2 separate regions of the Homo sapiens genome follow, and region 2 is linked to region 1. The links are contacts of gene promoters, found by promoter capture Hi-C in blood cells and fetal thymus (Javierre and others, 2016). All regions are on one chromosome and are shown on one strand. The core of a region is centred on a gene start or on the middle of the fragment in contact, and the rest is flanking DNA. Distances in the headings are between cores, read along the strand shown.

The links. The method cuts DNA at HindIII sites, captures the fragments that hold promoters and counts their contacts. A CHiCAGO score of 5 or more calls a contact.
Region 2: a contact is called between a fragment that was not itself captured here and the fragment with the promoter of SRSF10 in region 1, in 1 of 17 cell types (non-activated CD4 T cells). The highest score is 5.3, in non-activated CD4 T cells.

Annotation. Positions count from the first base shown.
Region 1 is chr1:23,978,986-23,981,685 of GRCh38, reverse strand. SRSF10 (serine and arginine rich splicing factor 10) reads left to right here and starts at 1,359. Exons shown (of 6, transcript NM_054016.4): 1 at 1,359-1,495. The coding sequence starts at 1,431. RefSeq lists enhancers at 1,035-1,084, 151-1,141, 1,095-1,424, 1,855-1,904, 1,142-2,132. The HindIII fragment of the contact is 15,744 bases long and covers 1-2,700 here.
Region 2 is chr1:24,646,212-24,648,911 of GRCh38, reverse strand. SRRM1 (serine and arginine repetitive matrix 1) reads right to left here. Exons shown (of 17, transcript NM_005839.4): 3 at 2,123-2,245; 4 at 1-53. Among named protein-coding and RNA genes, the nearest start is that of SRRM1, 4.3 kb to the right of the region's middle. The HindIII fragment of the contact is 4,299 bases long and covers 1-2,700 here.

The DNA.
Region 1 (2,700 bases), core at 110-2,609:
CTCTCATCTCCAGAAGTTGACTCTTATCGAGCAGGAAATGGCTCTCAAAAGGGCCTCCAAAATCAAAACCATACTAAAGATTATTTGCTATTTTCATGCTCATTCTCTTACAAACGTGGAGTTTTCCAGAGGGTACATGATGTGTGATAAAGGGTAGTGGAGTGTGTCAAAGTTTTCTCTATTTTTTTTTTTTTTCTTTTTTGAGACGGAGTCTCACCCTGTCGCCCAGGCTGGAATGCAGTGGTGCAATCTCGGCTCACTGCAACCTCTGCCTCCCGAGTTCAAGCGATTCTTCTGCCCCAGCCTCCCAAGTAGCTGGGATTACAGGCGCGCGCCACTACGCCTGGCTAATTTTTGTATTTTTAGTAGAGATGGGGTTTCACTGTGTTGGTCAGGCTGGTCTCAAACTCTTGACCTCGTGATCTGCCCGCCTCGGCCTCCCAAAGTACAGGGAGGGATTACAGGCGTGAGCCACCGAGCCCAGCCGAAGTTTCCTCTATTTTAAGTTCTCATTAACTATTTATTAATAGGTATAACCCACACTTTTTTTAAAAAAAGCTCTTTGGAATCTTCCGTAATACACAAGAATATAAAGGCGTTCTGAGACCAAAAAGTTTGAGAACTGCTGCAATACAGGTCCGATGCATACCCAGGAAGCCGTCAGCAACAAAGAATACACTACAAATGACCACAGTCATGAACCTACAGTGTGAGGTTTGGTCCCACCCAGGTTGGGAGCCAAATGCGTGACTAAGTGGAGATGGCTAGGGTGTGGGTGAGGGGCAAAGGCAGGCTGAAAACACTGGAGAGACAGGCCCAGCTCTGCGCAAGGGCACACACCTCCTTCCTTTACACACTCAATACAAGCTGTAAATCCTTCTTTCGCAGGTCAGGGCATAACCTGGACCAAACGGGAAATTTAAGGCAAAATAAAAGCAGGACATTAACTTGGACCAACCGGGAAATTTAAGGCAGCCTCTCTGAACTAAATAGTTTAAAAATCTGTCCATTTAGTAGTAACCGCAAAGTTTGGCCTAGAGACTAAAACATCTGCTTCCTGATTTGGGGGTGGAGATGAAGTGGAGTGTAAGGTAGAAAACGGCGGGAAATGAAGACCTAAAGAAAGAAAGAACAGGCTTGGGGGAGGGTAAGAGGCACCGCAAGAAGCCAACGAATGACACCGACGCTGAGGCGCGTGCGCCAGCCCTCCGCATGCGCAGGCGGACGCCTGGTGTTCTCGCGGGAAAGAACCGTTGCGCCCGACTTTGCGCGGAGGTAGGAGGGGGAAGTGGAGGCGGGAGTGAAGTCTCGCGAGAAGAGTCGGTTGCCGTAGCAGAGCCCTCTAGCTGTGTGTGTCTGAGGCTCGGCCGCCTGAGCCGCGGACGGTTTGCTGAGCCCGTTAGTGCGCCCGGCCGAGACACGCCGCCGCCATGTCCCGCTACCTGCGTCCCCCCAACACGTCTCTGTTCGTCAGGAACGTGGCCGACGACACCAGGTAGGTACAAGGCAGGTACTCCGGGCCTAGGCGGGGAGGCCGCAGGCGCCTGGAGAGGACCCTGGTGGTGGCGGCACTGGGCCGGGGGAGGGGACGGAGTGAAGATGGCGGGTCCCGCGCCCGCTTTGGCGCCGAACTAGGCCGCGCAGCGGGCCTCAGCCGCCGCGTGGGAGCGAGGGCGGCGCCTCTGCCTTCGCCGGGCCGCGTGGCGGGGTTTTTCGGTCCCCCTCCCCCTCCGCAGTTTGCAGCCCCTTTCTCCCTGCTTCCTGCCGGCGCGAGCAGCCCCCCGCCGCGGCCTTTCCGCGACCCGACGGCCGCCCCCCATTGATTTGAAGTTCACATTCTTCGAGGTTCACGCCCCCTTGGCCCAGAGATTTTTTTTTTTCCCCAGCCAAAAAATAGTGAGATGAAATAACGGGATCGAGGGAGAGGAATGTTGCTACCATTTATCTTTGTTGTTGTTGCCGTTGTTAATATTTGGGGGTTTTAATCAGTTGGAGGTGTTTGGAGAAAGGGAGCGTTGAGATTTGGGGAGTTAGATTTTTCCAGTTAAATGTTGCGAGTAGTTTTTCTTATTTCCTGGAAATTCTGGTCACCCTTTGAAAAGGGAGGTTTGGGAAGCGTCAGTCATTAGGACGTTGACAGCTAAGTTAGATTAATTCAGACGTACCTTAAATAGGCTTTGTTCTCACCATTCCCTTGTTTCGAGTTGCCTTCAGATTATTTTGGAAGAGTTCTTACTACAAGATGAGGCTTTTTATTTCACAAATAATGAATCTACACACAGAAAATAAGTGGTTTGGGTTTTTGGTGTTTCGTGGGGGTTTTTTGCTAGCTTTGTGATTTGCTTTTGTCTTAAATTTAAGAAGGAAAGAAAGCAATAATTCTTTCCATAAATAATTCTTTCCATAATTTCTAATAGTTACGTTAGCATCTAGAGAAATTTTCTCTTTACGTCATCTTGACACTTAACTATTTAAGAAGTTCGATATTTGTGACTTTTTCAGACCATATTTATCTACTGTTAAGTGTGTAAATCTGTCGCTAAAATTGGGGAGTAAAAATAAGTGCTTGGTATTTTTCAGAGTGCTAGAGTCGATTTGATGCTGTAAAAGTAAAAAAAAAAAAAAAAACAAGGCTTATATACAACCTAATGCTGCTGTACCTTTTATGAAAAATGACGGCTGTAGATAAAAATAAGTTGT
Region 2 (2,700 bases), core at 90-2,589, 670 kb before region 1:
TTTCCATTCAAAAATCCAGTCAGGTTGATTTGCATCATTTTGGAGTCTGGATTCTGCAAAAAGACACGACAGGAAGAAAAACAGGTTACTTCAAAACCAACCAACCAACAAATCAACCAACCTAAAACTCATTTAAATTAGTATTTTTTAAGTCTACCATAGGGGCTTAGACATATATATAGTCCTTACTATTTTACAAATAGTCTTCCCTAGTAGCTTCTCAGCAATATAATCTCTAACAGATTACCAAATTCTCTCTCACTCTACCAAAAGCATCAGAGCAGCCTGTTAATCCTTTGTGGATTTCGTAAGTATTTTTAGACTCTGTGGCTGTTAGTGGGCCTTACATTTATTAACTTTAAAAACCATCATGAAACATCCACAAATTCTAGTATTTACTAACAAGAAAAGTATTTGCTTGCCTGGAAATTTTCCCCCAATGAGAAACGGAAAAAGTACATAAACTGCTCCCTAACACTACAGATAGCTTTGCATAAAATATCTATTGTCCAGTTATGAAAACTAACAAGTTATGCATGCAGTCTGTAACTTCTGAGGGCTAAGCTAAAGGCCTGAGTTTTATATAAGGAAAATCTATTATAACAATGCCTCAAATTCTCAACTGTCCACAAAGTGCTAAGAGGTCAAGATTTCTCAAAAATAATTGGGTTTTTAAATGCTAAATCCGTTGGTCAAGCAACAAGGTCTGTATAACAAGCACAGCTCAATAGCACAAAGCAAGTACAGATTCCAGGTGTCTTCAGTTTCTTCTTGGAACCTTGGGGGTTTGGAATCGCCAAGTCCCCTGTAGAGAAAGATGTTCCCTTGGCTTGCTTCCGACTCCCTACTGCAACTCAACCACCTTGAGTTTAATGTTATATCATTTATCTAAATTGCAAAAGACGAACAAGCAATAATGAGTACACAACCACAAAAAAAGAATTGTCTTAAAAAGTTCTAAACTTTAATCTCATGCTCACTACAAGGGGAATACTACCAGATACTTAGGTTTTTAAAATGCACTAAAATACACATCAGTAAAGCATTTCTCCAATAAAATCTATCTTCAATCATCATTTAAAAAACTTTCTCCCCTGTTCCTGGTTTTCTAAGATGCATATACTTTATAGAAAGTGCATTCTTAAAATTAGTCTTTAAAAATATTCAAAACAAAATACAAACACCAAATTATTTTAAAACTAGAAATACCTTATCAGTTGAAATGCCAACTGTTCTGTCAAAACATAGGGTGAACTCTTTGGGGGAAATGATTAATGTAAAAGTAAATTCACATTGGTATATATGCAAAAAGGTCATATGGTACATATCTTAACTGTCCTTTGGGTTGCTGTGGCAAAACAGAAACTGTCTTACAATAAGAATGTTCTTAAACATCAGTTATATCATCATATTATCTCATGTATAAAGGAACAATTATATGCTGCCAATTTGTCTGAAGTTTAAGTATAAACAAAAATCCTGTCTCTAAAATGTAACTGATGACTAGCTGACATGCAGCTACAAAGACCTTAGTTCCTTTAAAAACAATATCCAATCAAATCAGAATTGCCCCTCATGCTTCACATAAATGTCCATCTCATAATAGTATTTTAAAAGAGCAGTGTACAGCTTTACCCAATTGCTCTTTCCTGTTTGTGTTTTTTGTTGTTGTTGTTGATGTTTGGCCACTTTACACAACTCACCTCCAAACACACACTGCATCATCAAGGGAGTTGGGTCAGAGCGACATTGGGACACTCACTCTGCTGTGACCTAATAAGGTGATGGTGCTATACTTCAGACGCAAGGAATAACTTCCATTTTGGTTCAGGCCTTTTAAATCATAAATCACATTATCATTAGAAAATTGCTGTCAAAGTAACTTAACATGTAACAGCAAAATTACAAACAATAAGTTTGATTTTTCACCTGTGTAGCTTTCAAAACTATGCACCTTCACTAAACTTCCAGCCTTAATAGTTGTTTACAAAGTGAATTCTTTTCACAACAAACATTGTAAAATAACCCTTCTATATTTGCACTCCATAGAAAAAATTCAGTTTCCAAAGATTCACAAATTATATCACATATTCAGAAACAAGAGCCATTTGTATATTAGTACCTTCACTTCCAGCTGGTTGAATATAAACTCAATCACAACATCATCTTCAAACCCAAGGATTTCCGTTACTCTTTTTGTTATCCAAGGCTTTATAACCTCCAAATTTACTTTGCTCATGTCCACCTGATGAAACATAGAAACAATTAAGTACAACTTCACAATCCTAAAAAAAAATGCTCAAGTTAGAGTTCTGTCTACCAAAGTTCCTTTTAGCTTAGTTTTTTTGTTTGGCATAGTAGAATCTGCTAATTTTTTTTTTTTTTTTTTGAGACAGAGTCTTGCACTCTTGCCCAGGCTGGAGTGCAGTGGTGCTCAGCTCACTGCAAGCTCCGCCTCCCAGGTTCGTGCCATTCTCCTGCCTCAGCCTCCCAATTAGCTGGGATTACAGGCACCCGCCACCACGCCCGGCTAATTTTTTGTATTTTTAGTAGAGACAGGGTTTCACCGTGTTAGCCAGGATGGTCTCAATCTCCTGACATTGTGATTTGCCCGCCTCGGCCTCCCAAAGTGCTGGGATTACAGGCGTGAGCCACCTCGCCCAGCCACAATCTGCTAATTCTTATATGGCTGTGCCACGT